6 separate regions of the Homo sapiens genome follow, and regions 2, 3, 4, 5 and 6 are each linked to region 1. Evidence: promoter capture Hi-C in 16 types of primary human blood cells and fetal thymus (Javierre and others, 2016). All regions are on one chromosome and are shown on one strand. The core of a region is centred on a gene start or on the middle of the fragment in contact, and the rest is flanking DNA. Distances in the headings are between cores, read along the strand shown.

What was found. The method cuts DNA at HindIII sites, captures the fragments that hold promoters and counts their contacts. A CHiCAGO score of 5 or more calls a contact.
Region 2: a fragment that was not itself captured here is called in contact with the fragment with the promoter of SAXO1 in region 1 in 1 of 17 cell types (fetal thymus); the score reaches 8.0 in fetal thymus.
Region 3: a contact is called between a fragment that was not itself captured here and the fragment with the promoter of SAXO1 in region 1, in 8 of 17 cell types (fetal thymus, megakaryocytes, naive CD4 T cells and 5 more). The highest score is 13.0, in fetal thymus.
Region 4: a contact is called between a fragment that was not itself captured here and the fragment with the promoter of SAXO1 in region 1, in 16 of 17 cell types (fetal thymus, megakaryocytes, naive CD4 T cells and 13 more). The highest score is 43.2, in fetal thymus.
Region 5: a contact is called between a fragment that was not itself captured here and the fragment with the promoter of SAXO1 in region 1, in 3 of 17 cell types (fetal thymus, megakaryocytes and M2 macrophages). The highest score is 9.4, in fetal thymus.
Region 6: a contact is called between the fragment with the promoter of ADAMTSL1 here and the fragment with the promoter of SAXO1 in region 1, in 2 of 17 cell types (endothelial precursors and fetal thymus). The highest score is 6.7, in endothelial precursors.

Annotation. Positions count from the first base shown.
Region 1 is chr9:19,031,561-19,035,066 of GRCh38, forward strand. It overlaps SAXO1 (stabilizer of axonemal microtubules 1), which reads right to left and starts at 1,649. Exons shown (of 4, transcript NM_153707.4): 1 at 1,311-1,649. The coding sequence starts at 1,348. RefSeq lists enhancers at 971-1,524, 1,525-2,078. The HindIII fragment of the contact is 8,262 bases long and covers 1-3,068 here.
Region 2 is chr9:18,220,918-18,224,423 of GRCh38, forward strand. It overlaps a transcript of ADAMTSL1 not described here. Among named protein-coding and RNA genes, the nearest start is that of ADAMTSL1, 250 kb to the right of the region's middle. The HindIII fragment of the contact is 5,046 bases long and covers 1-3,506 here.
Region 3 is chr9:18,239,936-18,243,441 of GRCh38, forward strand. It overlaps a transcript of ADAMTSL1 not described here. Among named protein-coding and RNA genes, the nearest start is that of ADAMTSL1, 230 kb to the right of the region's middle. The HindIII fragment of the contact is 1,025 bases long and covers 1,467-2,491 here.
Region 4 is chr9:18,256,415-18,259,920 of GRCh38, forward strand. It overlaps a transcript of ADAMTSL1 not described here. Among named protein-coding and RNA genes, the nearest start is that of ADAMTSL1, 220 kb to the right of the region's middle. The HindIII fragment of the contact is 2,488 bases long and covers 650-3,137 here.
Region 5 is chr9:18,273,013-18,276,518 of GRCh38, forward strand. It overlaps a transcript of ADAMTSL1 not described here. Among named protein-coding and RNA genes, the nearest start is that of ADAMTSL1, 200 kb to the right of the region's middle. The HindIII fragment of the contact is 735 bases long and covers 1,276-2,010 here.
Region 6 is chr9:18,472,342-18,475,847 of GRCh38, forward strand. It overlaps ADAMTSL1 (ADAMTS like 1), which reads left to right and starts at 1,812. Exons shown (of 29, transcript NM_001040272.6): 1 at 1,812-1,954. The coding sequence starts at 1,892. The HindIII fragment of the contact is 3,309 bases long and covers 663-3,506 here.

The DNA of each region.
Region 1 (3,506 bases), core at 399-2,898:
CAAAAAGAAAAAAGAAAGGCGGCCTTAGAAAAAAAGGTTTTGCTTGGTAACATGTAGTCCTAGACTATACACTGCTCTGGCCCCACTTAACAAAGCTCAAAAGCAAGACCCACGTTTGTACATGATCTAGTTCAGTGAGTCCCAGTCCTAGCAAATGGCCAGAATCACCTTTAGACAGTTGACAGGGCCCACTCTGAGAGTATCAATTCAACGGCCTGAGCAACTGATAGTTTTCAAACTCCCTGTGTGATTCTAATCAGCAGCCAGAGTTGGGAACCATTTATTGATGCCAGAGATATAGAAGGTTGCTGATCCAGTTTTTAGAGTGCCCTTTAATTCTCCACACTACTGATACCATTTTTATATGCATGTGTCATATTTGCCCTTTTTTCAGATTTCAGGACACTAACATATTAAGCACAATCCATGTACCAGGACTCACATACATGATCTTAACTCTTACAATAGTCCTATGAGGTACGTATTGTTGGTACAGATGAGGCGACTATGACCTGGAGTTTAGTTACCAATCTAAGATCCCACAATTAATGACAGCCCAGGAAAGGTGACCTCAGAACCCTCTTGCCTGTTGCTCCTCTGCTGCCCACTCCCTGCCCCAGCCAAGCAGAAACCCAGCTGCCCTGGGAAGCAGATAGAAGGAGCCTCTAAGAGATCATGTGAGTGACAGCAGACCAGTCAGCCCGTGGGACTCTGACTAAAGTCCATGATTTCCCCCAGGACCACCTTTACTGCGCTTCCACCCAAAGATGGTCCTTAAAGGTTAGAAGGGAGACCTGGCAGGCCAGGCGACTGTGAAAGTAATGTTTTCATTATCCTTATTCAACTCTACACAATGTGGAACAAGTTTTACTAATACCTTATACTTCTCTGACAAAGTAACAATCTCTCTGAATGAGAAATTCAGTTATACTACAGGAATTCTCCTCCCATCCTATCACTTTCCCAAAAGGAGCAAGACTGGTCCCACTGGGCCAGGTGTTCTCCCTCCTTGGCTGACACTTTCTGGGCTTCAGGGAAGGGAGTGCAGACTGCGCGGTCACGCCCATTTTCAACCCTCCTGCAGTTCTCAAGTGAAGCGGCACAGAAGGCCCGAAAACAGCCACATTCGCCAGAACTGATGTGGCGTCCGCGGGCACAACGCTAGTTGACACAATTGTGGCTTAAAAAACGTAGCAAGTGGACGAACCCACCGTGATGCCGCCTGATGAAGCAGCTGGGGGAGGCTTCCCTTCCTCGGGAGTCTGAAAACCCAGGCTCCCCCAGCCTTGCCCTGGGCGTGGCCACCTTACCCGCAGGAGCACAGTTCACAGATGCACTTCGTCTTCATAGGGGCGATCCTGAGGCCCTGACGTCCCCTCAGAGCATCGCCAGCTGCAGCCGACTCCTAGACCCCAACCACCTGTCTTGGGGCACGCCCAGGCTCGAGGGTCTTGGCAGGTGTTCTGTTTACTCGAAGGAAAATTTAAGTGGCCCTTTTGCAATGTCCTGTCGTCTGTTGCCCTCCTGGAGCTGGCCTAGCGCGAGGTAGCAGCAGGGGGCTTGCACGCGCGCCAGCCCGGGAGACCTCACCCTGCACGCCACCGCCCCGGCCTCCGCAGTCCAGACTTAAGCACCTGGAGCGGCTGACTGGGCCCCAGGAAGCTGCGGGGTCCGTGCCCAGGTAGCCTCTGTGATGTCGCCAGGGCCAGGAGGGGCACGCCTCAGGTGGCAATTACATCACAAGAGCCGCTTGTGAGGTCGGGAAGCTCCCAGCACCTCACTGGCAGGCCCAGGACAGGGGTTCCCCGGTGAACCTTGGAAAAACCTGAAAAAGGTGGAAGTCACTAGAAAGCTCCTGGTGCAGTAAACGGTCACACGTGCAGAAAAGCTGAAAACTCCCTCACCATCACCTTGGGTGGCATTTGCTATCTCTAGGATCCATGGTGCCCCCTCTTAGGGGAATACAGCCTTGACTTCCAAAAGGCTTGCCTTGAACAGGGTTTCCAGATCTTCCTGTGGAAACCTAGGCCTTTGGCTTCAGATGTCTGTTAGAATTGCTCTCACCCACAGACCTGCGCTCTTGAGAACACAGTGGTTTAAGAGCGCCCAGGCCTTCACTGCTCAGGTGGGTTCTCAATCACTTCTCCAGATGCTGGTAATGATGCCTTGAAGCAGGCGTTCTCAAATTCTAGTTGGCATCAGGACCACCTGGCTTGATGAAAACCAGATTGCCAGACCCCACCCCCAGTTTCTGATTCAGTGTTTCTAGGGTAGGCCAAAGACTTGCATTTCTTACAAGCTCTCAGGTAATGCTGGTTCTGCTGGGCCACGGACCACACTTTAAGAACTACAGCTTTTGAGGTTCCTTTACACCCCCTGGAATAGTGTTTCTTCAGCTTACCTGATCCCGAGAGCACACCCCCACCCAGAAGTCTCCCTTGCATCAAAACCTCTAGTCCGGGAATCTAGCTTCAACAAGAAGCCAGGTGATTCTGGTCATGAAGCAAGTTCAAAAGACACTGCTCTGGCCAGTTGTTTGGACTTAAAACATTTTGACTTCCTGCTTATGGGAAATGGGAGCTTAAAGTATTGACAATCTTTATGCTTTTCTTTCCTATGCTTCCTAACTCTTTCCATTCATTTTAGTGAATGAGTCAGTCAGAGGCATCTTGGACTGCAAGACACTTAATATTCAGAGGGTTTCTTTTTGTGTGGGGGGGGTTAGGTTTTTTCCTTCAGTAATAGGCTCTAGAATAGAGGTCAGCAAACTATTGTCTGCAGTTGGCCACTTGACTCTATCTGGCCATTGAGCTAAGAATGGTTTTCATATTTTTTAATGGTTGAAAAAATTAAAATAATAATATTACATGACAAATGAAACTTACCTAAAATTCAAATTTCAGTGTCTGTGAATAAAGTTTTGAATTTTTTCAAAAAATTTGTGTAAACATTCCCGATTTTGCCTCTTGGCCCACAAAAGCTAAAATATTCACTATCTGACATTTTACAGAGAGAGAGTTCCAACCCCAGTTATAGGAAGTCAGCAAGGTAGATTCAGACAGGAGCAAAGCTTATTGATCATTCTTAAGAACAGTGGGGTGGGAAGCTGCTCCTTGCCTTCCCAGTAGGAAGTCAGAACTCTACAGGGGAGGATGGAAACATGGCCAGACAAAAAAGAGGTGGGAGCTATTGGAAGTCAAAGCAAAACCTGCATGCCATCCATTGCCATTGACAGAGAACATCACACAGTCCTTACAGAGGAAATACAGTGCTGGACACCAGCCTTCTCTTGATGGCTGCCTAAACATTATCCATAAATCTTTCAGCAGAAGAATGCCTGTTCATGCCCCCTGCCATTCAAACTGCCCTTGTGGGTGGCCACCTTGTCAACAATCATGGTACTCCCCACTTCCTCCATCCATGCCCTCAATAGAGGGTAGAGATCTTGAAAGATGAAGATGGTGTGGACAAAATAGCCTCAACAATGATATACCTAAAGATCAGTG
Region 2 (3,506 bases), core at 632-3,131, 810 kb before region 1:
GCCTCTGCCACCAAGCCCAGCTAATTTTCATATTTTTTGTAGGGACAGGGTTTTGCCATGTTGCCCAGGCTGGTCTCAAACTCATGAGCCTAAGAGACCCACCCTCTTTGGCCTCCCAAAGTTCGGGGATTACAGACATGAGTCGCCATGCCCAGCCCGTTACTCCTAAATTTTAAGCATGCATACCTTGTTAAAGAAAATCTAAATTAGTAGATATCATGCCTTCCTCCTGAAAGGCTGTAGAATGTTTAATTTCAATCACCTCACTGTTTAGTTTTTTGGTTTTGCTTTGTTTTTAACCCCCGCAAATTGGACACATTATTGCTGTTGCTATACACAACAGTGTGACCAAGTGCAAATTTATTTTTGTTGGTCTTTTGGGAATGCATTATGTTTCTTTAACATGAAGATTTTATAATTTTCTTTAATTCTGAAGAATACTCAGCCTTTATGTGTTCACACAGTGCCCCTTCCCCACTCTGTTCTCTTATTCTAGGATGCCTGAGTTGTGTGTTGAAACATCTTATTTATCCTTCACATCTTTTAGCTTGATTTTCCTTCTTTTTATCTCTCTATACTGCACTAAGTTGTGTGCTTTGTGGATATATTTTCAGCCTTATTTTACTTTTTTTGAATGTAAGAGCTTGCCTATAAATTTTCCTTTAACAGTTCTTTTGCTACATTATGCATGTTTTGATATGTAATTGTTGTTATAATTTAGTTCTACGTATTTTCTAATTTCCATTATAATTTCTTCTTATTTAGAAGTATGTTTATAAATTTCCAAACATATTTATCTTTTTGTTATTGGCCTTGTACATTGTCAACTGTGTGTGTTATCCAGTTGTTGCTGCAGTGTTCTATATAAGTCCCTTAGATTAATGTTATTTTATTGGGGTTGGTGGCATTTTCATATCTATATTCTTGTTGTTTTATTTATGTCTTTTTGATTTATCAGTTTGTCAGGCATGTTAGAATTTCCCACCATTATGACAAATTTATAATGATTTTCTTCAAGTTTAGTGTTTGTTTTTTATATTTCAGACTCTATTATAAAGTACATTCATGTTTAGATTTGTATCTTCCCGAGTCTTAAAAGTTATATAACCATTTATACCCTCTTTATCCCTAGTAATAATTTTGCCTTGAATTCTATTTTATTCCATATTAAAATGGCTATCTATGATTTTGTTTGATTAGTATTTTCCTGTTAAATTTTTTCCATCTTTAACTTTCAGTGTTTTCTTTATGTTCTAGAAGTATCCTTTGTGTATAACATATAGCTAATTTTGTTTTTGCTTTTTTCTCAATCCAGTCTGATAAACTTTCTAAAATTTCAAAACTGGTCAATTTGTATAATTGTTCTTATTGTCATTTGGATTCATATTTTCATAATTTCTATTTTATCTGTTACTTTTTTGTTGCTACCTTTGGCTTGGTTTATTTTATTTATTTAATTTGGAACTTCTAGTTTCTATTCATTTTGTACTTATCTTGGCAATTGTGACATACATATTTAAATTAACATCATCTAAGGTTAATAAATATCTTTAATCACCTTACAAATAAATTCATTTGAAATGCTTTCACTTCAATCATCTTTTCCCAGTTTGCTTACTGTTTTTGTTTAGGATTTTAGTCCTACTTTGATTTTGTTTTTATCTCATAAATTAGTTATTAGCATTGTATATTCCAATCAGTATTTGTTTCAATTTACTCATATACTCTTTTTTTTTTTTTTTTTGCCATTCCTTTTTTCTTTTTAAACCTAAATCCTGGGAGAATTTTCTTTCTTCTTGAAATAAATAGTTTAGAAGTTTGTTTATTATGTATAGAAAACTCTTACCATAATTGTTTGCCTGCAAAAACATCTTTATTTTATCCTAATTCTTGAAAAGTAGTTTTCCTTGGTAGACAATTCCAGGTTGATATTTATTTTATATTTTTACTTTCCAGACATTACTGTACCATTTTTATCTCTTATGTGGCTATTGAAAATAGAGCTGCCAGTGTAATTTTTGTATCTGTATAGATAATCTGTCTTTTCTGTCTGCTTTCAAGTCTTCTCTTTGTCATTACTTTGCAGTTTTACTGTGAAGTATCTAGGTATAGATTTCATTTTAATTTATTCTTCCTCATTCATTTGGGGAGGGAGATTTCTAAATTTAAGGCTTGGTGTATTCATCAATTTCCAGCCAATATCTCAAAATCTGCTTCTTCTTCATTATCAGTATTACATGTTGAGCATCCGAAATCTGAAAACCCAACATTCTAAATGCCCCAAAATCTGAAATTTTTTGAGCACGAACATGATACTCAAAAGGAAATTATCTTTGGTCAATTTCAGATTTGGGGGTTTCAGATTTGAAATGATCGATCATTAAGAATAATGCAATTATTCTAAAATCTGAAAAATTCTGAAATCTGAAACAATTCTGGTTCCAAGAATTTCATATATGAGATACTCAACCTGTATCTCCTTTAAGAACTACAAATATGTAAGTTAGAATTTTTTTCATTTTATTTTCTTTACCATCTTTTTGCTTCTTTTGTTGTATTTGGTTTAATATGCATTTATCTCCACTTCAGTTCATTAGCCCTGTCCTCAATGGTGTCTAATCTCTTTAAATCTGACTTATTAATATAAATTATACTTTTCATCTCTAGAAATTCAATTTGTTTATTTTTCAAATATGCTTAGTTAGTTCTAATAATATCTTACTACTTCATACCTGCAAGCATTTTATTTAATCCTTGAACTATATTAAATATATCTGTTTTATGTATTGTACCTGAAAATTCTAGTATATGCAATGTATCTATCTTTAATTCTATGGTTGTTGCTTCTTTTGTCTCTCACCCATGGTAGCTTGTTTCTTTATGGGACCAGTGATTTTTTTTTAATTGTGAATACATTTTCTTTTGAACTTACCATGGGAAATTTTTGAGGCCTGGGTTTAACGTGTGTTCCTCCATAGAGGTTGTATGTTTTCCTCTGGTAGGCATTTGGGATCATTGCTAATCTAGGACTCTTTTATATTAATTTTTAAAAAGCCACAGATGTTAGGAATACAGATTCCAGAGAAGTATAAGTAAAAGCATTCTTTTTTTTTCTTCTTTTATCCTCTTTTCCAGAACCAAGCCAGAGCCTAGAACATGCCCAGTCCTTAGAAGCCAGAGATTTTTCCTGCTTCAACTGTTGAAAAAGTTGCCATTTGGGCATGGTCTTGGTCCCTTTGTGCTGCTTTAAGAGAATACCACAAATGGAGTAATTTATAAAGAACAGAAATTTATTTCTCACAGTTCAGAAGGCTGGGAAATCCAAGATCAAGACACCAGCAGGTTCGGTGTCTGGTCTCTGCTTTCAAGATGGTGCCCTGAATGCTATATCCTCCAGAGGAGGGGAGTGCTGTGTCCTCACATGACAGAAGGCAGAAGAGCAAAAATGGGGACAAAAACTCCCTCATCAAGACCTTTTATGATGATTCTGCCATCATAACCTAAAC
Region 3 (3,506 bases), core at 729-3,228, 790 kb before region 1:
TTTTACATCTTCAGTGACTTTCTCCACTGAAGTCTTGATGTTCTCAAAGTCATCCATTAGGGTTGGCATCAACTTCTTCCAAACTACTATTGTTGATATTTTGACTGCCTCCCATGAATCATAAATGTTCTCAATGGCATCTAGAAAGGTGACTCCTTTCCAGAAGGTTTTCCACTTACTGTACCCAGATCCATTGAGAAATTATAATCTATGGCAGTTTTAGCCTGACAAAATGCATCTCTTAAATAATAAGATGTGAAAGTCAAAACTAATCCTTAATCCGTGGGCTACAGAATGGATGTTGTATTAGCAGGCATGGAAACAACTCTTATCTCCTTACATCTCTATCAGAACTCTTGGGTGACTAGGTGCATTGTTAATGAACAGTAATGTTTTAAAATGAATCTTTTTTTTTTTTTCTAAGCAGCAAGTATTAACAGTGGGCTTTGTATATTTAGTAAACCATGCTATAAATAGATGAGCTGTCATCCAGGCTTTGTTGTTCCATTTATAGAGCACAGGCAGAGTAGTTTTAACATAATTCTTAGGGGCCCTAGAATTTTCAGGATGGGAAATGAGCATTTTCTTCAACTTAAAGCTACCACTCTATTAACCCATAACAAGAGAGTTAGACTGTCCTTCGAAGCAAAGAACTGACTTCTCCTATCTGCTACTGAAAGGCCTAGATGGCATCTTCTTTCAGTATAAGATATCATTGAATATAAGATGCCATTGAATATAAGATATCAAAGTACTCCAGAGGGAGTACTCCCTAACATATCTTATACGGCTGTTTCATCTACGTTGAAAATCTGTTGTCTAGTGCAGCCTCCTTCATCAGTGATCTTAGTTAGATCTTCTGGATAACTTGCTGCAGCCCTGTATCAGCATCTGCTGCTTTACCTTGCATTTTTCTGTTATAGAGGCAGCTTCTTTCCTTAAACCTCATGAACCAACCTCTGCTACCTTCAAATTTCTCTTCTGCAGCTTCCTCACTTCTGTCAACATTCACAGAATTGAAGAGAGTTAGGGCCTTGCTCTGGATTAGGCTTTGACTTAAGAGAATATTGTGGCTGGTTTGATCTTCTCTCCAGACCACTAAAACTTTCCATATCGTCATTATGGCTGTTTCTTATTCCTGTGTTCACTGGAGTAGCATTTTTAATTTCCTTCAAGAACTTTTCCTTTGCATTTGACTAACTACTGAGTACAAGAAGCCTAGTTTTCTGTCTATTTTGGTGTTTGACATGTCTTCCTCACTAAGGTACATTTCTAGGTTTTGATTTCAAGTGAAAGATAAATGCCTTTTCCTTTCACTTGAACACTTAGAAGCCATTATAGGGTCATTAATTGGCCTAATTTCAACGTTCAATTATTCTTCCTCCCTTTCTTTGCTGTTGCCTCTGTAGAACCCTTTCTGGCTTCTCTTAATTTCACCTACCTGTATTCTTGATCACACTTTCTTAAGCTTCCTAGTCTTGCTCCATCAATGATATCTTGTCCAGGTTATCATTTATCTTGCCTTTTGCAGTAGAGCCTTCCTTTCAGGCTATTAATATTCCCTTCTCAAGCTCTGAGTAGACTAAAACAGCCAAAATGTGTTTCTTCTCTCTTTAAAAAAAAAATTTGTATTGCACATGTTTAACATATATAACATGATGTTATAAGACATATATAAACAAAATGACAAACCTTAGCTAGTCTAAACAAAAAGGAAAAGGCTCAAATGAAATCAAAAATGAAAGTGAAGAAGTTACAACAGATGCCTTAGAAATAAAAAAGGATCATAAGGGATTATTATGAGCAGTTATATACCAAAAAATGGGATAACCTAGAAGAAATGGATAACTTCTTAGAAAAATACAACATACAAAGATAGAATCAGGAAGAAATAGAAATCCTGAACAGATCAATAACATATAAAGAAATTGAAAAAGCAACAAAAACCCTTACAGCAACAAAAAACCTCATGCCTTCATAGTTGAATTTTACCAAATATTCTAAGAAAAATTAATACCAATACTTATGAAACTCTTCCAAATTACTCGAGGGGGAGTACTTCCTAACACATCTTATAAGGCCACCATCACCTTGATACCTAAGCCAGACAAAGACATCACAAGAAAAGAAAACTATAAGCCAATTCTCTGATGAACATTAATGTAAAAATCCTCTATAAAATATTAGCAAACTAAAGTCAACAACACATCAAAAAGATTTCATATCATGAACAAATGGGATTCATCCCTGACATGCAAGGCTGGTTTAACATATGCAAATCAATCAATGTAATATATCATGTTAACTGAATGAGAGATTAAAAACCACATGATTGTCTCACTTGATGCAGAAAAAGCATTCAACAAAGTCAAAAATCCTTTCTTAATAAAAACTCTTAACATTTTAGGTAAATACGGAAAATTCCTCAACATAATAAAGGCCATTTGGAAAAACTCACCGCTAACATTAGAATCAATGGGGAAAAACTGAAAGCTTTTTCATTAAGATCCAGTATGAAGCCAGGTTGTCTACTCTCTTTAATTCTATTCAACATAGTGTTAGAACTATTAGCAAGAACCATGTGACAAGGAAAAGAAATAAAAGGCATTCAAGTAAGAAAGGAAGAAATACAATTATCTCTATTTGAAGGTGGTATGATCTATTACATGTTAAAAAAACTCAAAGATACCACAAATAAGCTTTTAAATAAATTGATGCACTAAAGTTGTAGGATATGAAATCAACATATAAAAATCAGTATCATTTTTATACACAAATCACAACCTAATTGAAAAAATTGATAAAACAATCCCATTTATGATAGTTTTTTAAAAAATTAGGAATAAATTTAACCAAGGAGGTGAACAATCTCTACACTGAAACTATAACATTGATGAAAGCAATTAAAGAAAATATAAATTAATGGATTGATATCTCATGTTCATAGATTGAAGTAATTATTGCTGTTAAAACACCCATACTACCCAAATCAATATACAGATTCAATGCAACATCTATCAAAATCCTAATGGCATTTTTACAAAAATAAGACAGTCCTAAAATTCATATGGAACCATAAAAGACCCTGAATAGCCAAAATGTTTCTGAGAGAAAAATTAAGACATTACACTTTCTGATTTAAAATTATATTACAAAGCTGTAGTAATCAAAACAGTACGGTACTGGCATTAAAACAGACACATAGACCAGTGGAACACAATAGAGTCCAGAAATAAGTTCATACTTATATGGTCAACTAATTTTTGACAAGGGAACCAAGAGGATACAATGGTGAAAGAAGAGTCTCTTCAATAAATGGTGCTGGAAAATGGTTGCCACATTCCTTCTCTCTTGTAATTCTTCCAAAATATTACTCCTTCTTCTCTTGCCCTTTCTTATGCTCATTGATAGATGCTTAACAATCAGCTCACTCCATTACAGATGTGCTTCTATCCCCACCATCTCTAACCCTGAAGACTCTCAAAAATTACCAGTGATGCCTCGAG
Region 4 (3,506 bases), core at 644-3,143, 770 kb before region 1:
GAAAGAATGCAAAGTACAGTCCAATGAACCCTGAGGTTGGAGGATATAGATGCTTAATGGAGCTTGCAAAAGTCATTGTGAACCTTCTCTGTCTAAAACACTATCCTAGATGTTAGATGATGTTTTGAAAAAGAAATGGGCATAGACATGAATAGAATATGGTTTCTGACATCAAAGGAGTTAACAGCCCATTGGGGAAGACCAAGGAGCCAGTGCTATAGTAGGAGAGGGACAGAGAGGCTTAAGAGCTAATTCTGGAACCTACTAGCCTCAGGAAGTTTTGCTTCTAGCCCAGGATTCATTATTTACATGTGAACCAGATGAGCCAGCGGTGTTGCCCAGCAACCATCGTAATATACAGCCCGGGTGCTCTGATAGTGACATCTCCCTGTCAGCACTGCCTGTTCCTTGGGAATGTTTTCTTTGATTCATTTTCCCAAGAAATTTCATTAAGCCATATTCAAAGTAAAAGAGTTTTAAACCCCCACTGACTTTTACCCCTCTTCTGTGCTTGTACTTTATCTGCCAGAGAAGTCCCAGAGACAGCTGTACCCCTGCCTCAAGCTTACACATTCCATGAGAGTGGTTTTTGTTCATTAAAAATAATTTCCTGATATCTTCAACTTATCTTAAATTCATCCAAAAAATAAGCTTGATTGATGTACAGGTAGAATGTTGGATAGATGATAGGTATGAAATAAGTCAAATATAATAAAATATCAATTACAAAAATTAGATGTCAGGTATGGTGATCATCACAACACAATTCTTTAAATTTTCATATTTGAAATTTTTCATAAAAATGTTTTTTAAAAACAAAAAGTTATTTTGTAATTTTCTAATTTATCAAGAGTATCTTGCTACAGAATGGAGGAGATCCAAAAAGATAATGTGAAAGGCAGAGAATTCAAAACAAAATCCAACTCAATTAAAAATTTGCAATGGACTTGAATAGACATTTTCTCTAAAGATATACAGATGTTCAATAAGCGCATGAAAAGATGCTCAACACCCCAGTTATTAGGAAAATGTACAATAACACAACAATGAAATATCACTTCACACTACAATAGTTATTATTCCAAAATAATAATAATAACAACAACAGAAAATAAAATGTGTGGGTGATGATATGGAGATATTGGAATCTTCGTGCATTGCTGTTGGGAGTGTAAAATAGTACAGCCCCTATGAAAAACAGTTGAGCAGCTTCTCAAAAAGTTAAGCACAGAATTACTTTATCATCCAGCTATATTCTCTTTCTAGATATATACCCCCAAAGAACCGAAAGCACACACCCATGTTTATAGTGCATTATTCACAATAGCTAAAAGGTGGAAACAACAGATGAGTAGATAAATGAGGCCTAGACATAAAATATTATTTGGTCATAAAAAGAAATGATTCTGATAGAGTTATAATGAATCTTACAAATATGCTAGGTAAAATAAGGACAAATACTATGTGATTCCAATTATAGAAGGCACCTAGAATAGGAAACTTCATAGAGACAGAAACGAGAATTGAGATCTTCAGAGCAGAAGGAAGGAGGGAAAAAGGAGTTATTGTTTCCTGGGTACAGAATTTCTGTTTGGGATGATGAAAAAGTTTTTGGAAATAGATCTTGGTGATAGCTGCACAACAATGTGAATGAACGTACGTAAAGCTGCTAAGTTGTACTCTTAAAAATAGGTAAAATGGCAAATTTTATGTTATGTGTATTTACAAGTAATAAAATAAAAACCAGGTTTTTTGCTAAATTGTACACTTAAAAATAGGCAAAATGGCAAATTTTATGTTGTATGTATTTACCAGTAATAAAAGAACAACCAGAGTTCCTTTCTCAAACAAGATGCGTACGCAAGAAAAAGATCAATGAAAAGGCAAGGTGATATGCTAGTATGCAAAATGAGGTAAACGAGGAATTATCTGAAATAAAAGAAAAAGAGTTGGAGATGACAGAACATTGGGAGAAAGAGGGTTCTGAGCCAGAAAGCCACATAGGAGAAAGGAGGATGGGGAATGCAGGGAGAGCCTCAGAGCCTGCCAGGGCCTCCTTGTAATTGCAGCTTTCTCTGCATTCTCTCTTCTTCCCTTAATCTGCCATCCTTGCCTCTTGCCATTCTGTTCCAAAGGGAGAGGTCTCACCTAGCAGAGACAATCACATTCCTGTGTGGCCTGGATCTCCACACCCACCGCCAGTGCCTTCTCCAGGACCCTCATGGCACCAGGATCCCCGCCCGCATCATCGATCTTTCCCTGGCTCCTGGAGTCTTCCAGTAGCGCTTCTGTGTGCTTACATTGCTCTCTCAAATGAACCAACAAAGCCTGCAAATTCTGCCTGGTCCCTCACACACCAGGTTGTCTCTCATCTTTCTCCTTGTCATAACCACGCATCTTCACTTACTGTCTACACATCCTTAATTTTATTCAGTCTTTATTATACTTTGGCTTCTCTCCTGATTATTGAATGAAATTGCTTCTGCGTAGGTCAGCAATGACCTTCATCTTACCAAGTCCAGTGAACATTCCTCAGTCCTTACCAGAATTGCCACGATCATTCAACGCACTTGACGACTCCCTTCTTGACATAGTCTCTGCCATTGGCTTCCAGTTAAGTGACTTTTCTTTGACTCTGAGTCTTCACTGTTGGCTTCTGTTTCCTGCATATTTCTCCTGGCTCCATATTATATCCTCTTTCCTTCTCTCTACATTCATTTCCTAGGCAATTTCTTATGCTCATGTGGGCTTAAAACACCATCCATGTGCTTACCAAAGTCATAGCTTCCAGCCCAAACTTTAGGAATGAAAGGCCCATATAGCCAACCACCTACTACCCATCTTAGTTAAATTCCTCATCTACGCTTTGGGAAGCTGAGGTGAGCGGACCACTTGAACCCAGGAGTTTAAGACCAGCCTGGGCGACACGGTGAAACCCGTCTCTACAAAAAGTACAAAAAATTAGCCAGGCATGGTGGCACATGCCTGTAGTCCCAGCTACTCAGGAGGCTGAGGTGAGCCCGGGAGGCAGAGGTTGCAGTAAGCTAATATCCTGCCACCACACTCCAGCCTGTATGACAGAATAACTCTGTCTCAAAAAAAAAAAAAAAATACATATATCCTTATGTAGCATCACAAGCTTAATGTGCTCAGGTAGTACAGCTTACAAGGCTCCCAGGGGACACAGCCCTCCTCTTTCTGCTCCCCTCTCCCCCCATCACACCTCCTTTGACTTGTTAGGTTTCCATCACTTTGACTTTTCTGAAAGTTTCCTAAATGTGCCAAACTCAAGTTTTCTTGGGAACTGGGGTCTAATAACGCCTAATGCGCTTGTAAGATGAAATAAGGTAATAGGTGACGTGCTTAGAGTAATAGGAAATGGTGCCATTGTGTTATTTTTATTCCTATTCATGCTGGTTTTCTTAGTTAAAAAAATAAAAAGGGAAAGAACAATTATATAAAGTTCACAATTATGGTTGTTTCCTAGTCACTGTGAGATCATGATC
Region 5 (3,506 bases), core at 393-2,892, 760 kb before region 1:
GCATTAAAATACTGAAAATAGACACTCATTCTTTTGTGTGCAGAAGGATGGTTGCAGGGACCAAAAGGTCCAGGTTATTTTATACCTTGTGGAGTCTCACTCTGTTACCCAGGCTGGAATGTGGTGGTGTGATCTTGGCTCACTGCAACCTCTCCCTCCCAGGTTCAAGTGATTCTCGTGCCTCAGCCTCCCAAGTAGCAGGGACTACAGGCAGGCACCACCATGCCTGGTATATTTTTTGTATTTTCAGTAGAGACGGAGTTTCACCATGTTGGCCAGTTTAGTCTCAAACTCCCAACCTCAAGTGATCCGCCCGCGTTGGCCTCTCAAAGTGCTGGGATTGCAAGAGTGAGTCATCACGCCCGGCCACCTCACAGTCATATTGACATCCATAGTAGAACACTTTTAGTTGTGTTATTGGATATAGCTGTCTCTGAGCCTTTTATGTTCTCACAAAAATTAAGACTTTTATTTGTAAGCAGAAAAGAGGAAAATTGGTAAGGGGCAGTGCAGGCATTTCTAGTAATTTTGGTTCTGCAGGCCCCCTGGTTACATTTATCTTCCAAATTTGAAAATATATTCTCAACAAATTTAGTCCTCGGCATCATTCTTATTCTACCACTGAGAGTGTCAAGTGTGGTACCATTAGGATGGCAATTTTATGTGTTGATCCCGCCTAAAAGCCAAATTCAGATTCATTTCACTCACAATGCCAACCATGTGGTCAACTTCATCCAGTTCCTTGGTTGTAACCTAGATTTCAATGGACAAAATGTAATGTGAAGGCTCCATATCTTATTACCTAATTCTGAGTGATCAGTCTTCCACTGTTGAGTATCAAATATCTACATTTATCATACCAGATCTTAATCATTGTCAACTGTGCAGAAAGATCCTTAGAGATTTTTTTATGCATTAAATTCTGGAAATTCTCAGGTACGTTTCCCTAAAATGCGTAAATCCTGCTGCTGTCCTGTGTGCATACATACAAATCATAATTTAAATGACCTATTTAAACTTTAGGTTTAGATAATTTGGAGGGTGAGTCTAGAATGAAGCTATGGAAGAGAAATTTTGAATGAAGGAATTTAGATATCTCTCACTTGTATTGCAAAAGCAAGAAGTGTGAGTTCTCATTCATGCAGTTTAGTCTGATTATTCCAGGTGTGTCATGGGAAGAAAGCTCGAATCTTTATCCCTATCGCTACGCATGGTTTATTTGATGCATTCGTAAAAATGTAGGTAATATCTAGTGCTCTTTCTTCTTGCATATTAAGCTTTGATTAACATATGGTAATAATGTAGCGTTGTTGAGTTGTCCAAATCTTAAAAAACATGAAATATGGAGTACAAAATCACACATGTGCAAACTGAGCTAATATTTCTTTCCCCCAAATAAGCAAGTTTTTCATCTAGATTATTTTCAGTTATAGAAATTGATTATATCCTCATGAAAAGAGTTAGTAGTTTGAAAAGAAATCTGCAATGTCTGAGGTATTTCATAATACAACAGAAATAGGCAAAATAAAAAGAAAATTTGTACTTAATGCAAAAAAAAATATTCATTATGCTCATTTAGAGAGAAACAAGTCTGAAAAATTTCAGCACCAAGGTTAATTTTTATTATATAATAAGTGCACAAAAACAGAGTTTGGAAAAGGCATGATTTTCAACCACTTTTTCTAGCATTAAGACTAAAATAAAAAAACTAAAATGAGGCAAATCGTTGCAAAAGAGACTATTATAAAAGATAGTAAGTAAATGTACACAGCATTCATTATATCATCCTGTTTGCAGCACTGCATTTGAGATTGTGTCAGCACTTCCATTGTAAGCCTGTACTTTGAGGAATTTGGAATTTGGCCAATAAAAGATCATTCTGAACTGAAAGTTGGCACAGAAAATTTCCTCCCATGAGCAAAAGTTGTTTTCATTATTTCTTCTTCATCATTGTCTTCTTTTTTCTTTCCTTTTTACAAAATTCCATGAAACCTCATCTGGTTGCTTTTAAGCTTGGATATCTAAAGTAAGAGAGCCAACCCAATGATTTGAAGACAATACATCTTTTGTCCATCTGGGCAAAATTTGTATTTGGCATTTTATGTGAAAGAGCCATACAATTCAATTGGGAGTATTTAAAGAAAGAGTAAAAACTAATTTCAAAAGACCTCTTAGTCATTACCTCTAATAATGAAGTTAAAAGGAACAAAATGAGGGTGAGAGAGAGCTTATTCACTTACTCCCATTATTGTGCGCATTACTTTATAGCTATTAATAAAAACTGTTCTTCACAGCACTTCTGCATAGTTTCATACCCATTTATTTTACAGCTTTATTGATGTATTTTATATATACAATAAAATTAGCCCATTTTAAGTGTACAGTTCTATGAGTTTTGGTAAATATGAATAGTCATCCAACTATCACCAACCACAGTCAAGTTTCAGAACAATTTCATCAGCACAAAAAGTTCTCTTATTCTACTTACCAGTCATTGCCCATCCCTAATCTCACCTTAGCCCTAGGCAACTACTGATCTGGTTTTTTTTGCCACTACAGATCTGCCTTTTCTAGAATTTTCTGTAAATGAAATCAGATAATATATAATGTATTACGTCTAAATTGTTTCACATAGCATGTTTTTGAGGGCCATCTGTCATCTTTAATGTATCAGTAGTCTATTCCTTCGTATTGCTGAGTAGTATTTCATTGTTTAGATGTACCAGAATTTGTTAATCCTTTAGTGAGTCATAGACATTTGGGGCTATTTCCAGTTTGAGACTATTATTAATAAAACTGTTATTACATACTTGTGTGCAGGTCTTTATGTAGGCGTGTTTCTACTTCTCTTGGGTAAATCCTACCTCAGGGTAGGATTGTAGGCTCCTATGATAAATGCATGTTCAAATTTATATGGAACTGCCAAACTCTTTTCAAAAGTGGATGTGCCATCTTGCATTTCCACCAGCAATATATGAGGGTTCTGGTTTCCCTACAAGTGTCTCTTCTGAAAGTTTCTTACTTAAAGTCTATTTTATCTGATACAGGTTTAGCCACCAAAAGTCTTTAGTTATCCCAGTGGTTGTGTACTGATACCCAACTGTGCTTATTTGCCATTTGTATATTTTTTTTAATGAGTTGTTTTTTCAGACCTATCACCCCTGCCCCTTTTTTATTGGGTGTTTGTCTTTTTATTATTAAGTTGAACGGCTTCATTAAATATTTTAGAAAAGAGTTCTTTGTCAGATATATGTTTAGCAAATGTTTTATACTAACGTGTTGCTTCCCATTCCATATTATTAATGGTATTTTTGATCAGCAAAACTTTTAAGTTTTATGAAGTGCAATGTATATATTTTCATTTATGGTTTATTTACTATGTGTCCTATGAAAACTTTGCCTAACTCAAGTTCTCTAAGATTTTCCCATTTTCTTCTCAAAGTTTTATAGTTTCAGCTGTTAGGTTTGGGTCTCTCATATATTTCAAATTAACATGTGTGTTATTC
Region 6 (3,506 bases), core at 562-3,061, 560 kb before region 1:
CATTAGCTAGTTTTTGAGAGATTTGTAAAACAAATCTTTCTAAAAGGGAAAAGCATATTTCAAGAATGGGCTCTCTTTGTTATGGATTTGTACTGTCCATTTTTCTAGGTCCACATACTTAATATTGAGAACAAAGGATAATCTTTGTATGACCTTGACTTTCCTAACAGCATGAAAATAGGATTTTTAAAGTTTCTCTCTCTTTAATTGATATACCATATGAAGTAGGTAACCTAAAGTTGAACAACCTGCTTTTCTTCACCTTTTTGAAAAGCAACGCAGCAGGTATGTACATAGGCAGACCTGCCTGTATTCACATGCCCATTATGGCTTGATCAGGTTTTCCATATTCGTGTGTTTCATACCTCTTGTCAGTATTTTTTAATAATGAAAGGAAAGAACATTAATTCTAAATGTCTTGTACCTCCACTGCATATATTTCTGGGCTATCAGGAGATCTGAAAAGGGAAAACGTCCTGATGACACACCTATGGCAATGTAAGGCCAGGGCTGCTCTTTTATTCTTTCAAAACTCAATGATTTCCTTTGCAGATAAGGGGAAATACATCCTTGTTTGACATTTGACACTTTTCTAAAACTGTAATAAAACCTTCCTCTAGTAGAGTCAAATCTCCCTTGCTGGTGGATTAAGCAGCTTCAGAAGCTTCCTGACCTTCTCGTTGCTGTTGCTGGCCTTGTCGTCATTTCACTGCTCATTAGCACTTCCTTCAGGGCTGGACTGGCCTCCAAGGTCATCCCATCCAACCCTCTTGCAATAGTGGATGGAAAAATGAGGTAAAACTCAGTTCAGCCTTTTCTGCATTATAACAGCTCTGATAAAGGACGTGGGTGAGGTGCGGAGGAAGCTGAAACTTGGTTAAAAGAAGGTTTGGGGATTAACTGAGGATTTAATTCATCCTTTCTTTCTCTCCCGTGGCTAAAATAGATAGTTGAGAGTTGGCAGTGCATCAAAACCAGGCTGCTCCTCAACCCCAAATTTCAGCCCCACTCATCCTGGAGTCTTTGTTGAGGGTTTCTTTTTAAACTGGGGGATCTAAGTTTCTAATTGTGCCTTTACAATTAGCAAATCTTAAATGCCTTCAATTGTCACTTTACAGAGAAGCAACTTGCTTTGTTTTTTTCCCCCCAAATTAAGTCCTTAATAACACAAAATAACTTATGCCACTGTTTAGGCTTAGTGAGGAACCTTCAGAAAATGTATAGAGTATTTATTTTGCAAGTCAAGAGAGAAAGTAAAGAGGAACTTTATGGAGGCGAAATAAAACAGTTGTACAGAACACATTTACAGGGCACATTAAGTCGGTTTTTGTCTATGGTTCTTTCCCTTTATGGCATATGTTATATATTGACAGGGATTAAGTTTCTCTCCTGAATGGAACAATACACAGTCACAGGGAGCTACTGTACTTTACAAAGCAACAGACATCAGCACAGGCAAATGGCAAATAGAAATGCATCTCACAAAGAACTAACCAGGTCCATGGGAAGCACAGTGCTTGGCTTCATCTTTTGCAATTCTGCATCTTTTGCATTTCCCTTCTCGCTCTGCTGCTCGCTCGCCTTTCTTTTTCGTCCTTTTCCCCCTTTTTTGCTCGCACCGTTACACTTTCTCTGTCCTCCTGGCTTTGTTATTCAGCATGTCTGATTAGCAGGAGCCTGATTGGCTGGCTGCCTGCTCCGAGAGAGATTCCATTCAGCTTACCCCCCACCCATCCACCCACCCACCCCTCGGTCAGGAAATGTGAGAGGGGCTGATGGAAGCTGATAGGCAGGACTGGAGTGTTAGCACCAGTACTGGATGTGACAGCAGGCAGAGGAGCACTTAGCAGCTTATTCAGTGTCCGATTCTGATTCCGGCAAGGATCCAAGCATGGAATGCTGCCGTCGGGCAACTCCTGGCACACTGCTCCTCTTTCTGGCTTTCCTGCTCCTGGTAAATGCCTTTTCATTTCAATGCATTGCTATTGCCATTGAGTCTGGGTGCTGTTGGGGGTGTGTGTGTGTATGTGTGTTTGTGTGTGTGTGTGTGTCTTTATCTTAAAACTCCAGGTAAAATAATTTACACGATTACAAAGAGAGAATACTCCTTCTAGAACTTTTAACCTCAACTTCCCAAGCAAGATAAAGTCTGCAAGACTTTCTGGAATTAGTTACTGCTATACAGTAATACTGATACTGAGACATGAACTTTGGGACATACTGCATGGAGTTTGGGAGCTGAGGACTGTATATATGGTGGTGTGTATGCTTGGAATTTGGATAACAGACATCCTGAAATTAAACTCACTCACTGTGGTGTTCCTGGAATTTTTTGATGGATAGGCTTTGCAGAGCTTGCCCGTACCGCCTTTAATGAATTACTTTCCATCTATGCACATGTACTATGGAACCAGGTAAAGAGGGGAATGAGAGCCTCTTTGCAGCCAACCCAGATTATGGCTCTTAATTACTGCAAGTCATTTATGGATAGAAGTTAATGCTAGGATTTATGAATTGAGGATTATGGCCTTTGATCTCAAATTTACTTTTAAAGAAGAAAAAGGAATGGTGACTTTTAGTACGGCTGATTGCCACAGTCATAGTGATAAGATGCTCTGCTCTTGAACGTCAGTACACATTGCATTTTTGACTCGAAGTAAATGTTCCGTTGTGACTCATACTTGGTTTTATGGGCAGAAAATGAACATTTACTGTCCAAAATAAATCTACACTCAAAATATTAATAGCAATGCACATTTTTTAAACCAGAGTGTTCTGGGCAGGCAGCTTAGTAAACCTCATCTGAAGGTTTGATTCCAAAATTTGCACACACTGATCCAAACAAATGTGATTGTAGTTTTTCCTGTCACATTTATAACATGCCAGAACTTCCTCAGAAGGTAACAAGGCAGGAAGAGAACAAGGTAAAAATGTAGCAAATGAATAGGTTGCATTGATTCCTTGATGGGGAAGGAATGTTTGTTCTGATTATATTCTGACAAATCTGATCTGCGCTATAATTTTGAAGTAGGGAAGAAAGCCATTTGGTACAAACTGAAAAAGTCCAGGAGATTCATCAAATAGAGTAATCAGACAGTGATTCAATATTTTATACATTCCCACTTCTTAATGATTTGCATCATTGTAGCTAAGAAATTATAATGCTGCATTGCAAGTGCTATAAATATAGAAATAAATTTTTAATTTTTCATAGAAATTTAAAGGTAAACTACATTTCAAGCATGAATGAACTATAAGTTTTAGCTGTTCTGAAAAATACAAAGAACAGAATGTTTAGGTATGCTTTATGACTTGTGGAGCAAGCGATTTATGAAAGGTGTCTCATTTTTTCCATATGGGATGTGTTACTTGTATACACCATTAGTTTGTCTCATCTTTCCTTCTTTGTGATTTTTTTAAGTGTGTGTTATTTTCCCATTATATTGCATCATAAAGCAAATTACCAGTATACATTACTTTTTTGATATTTTCATATGGAAGTATGA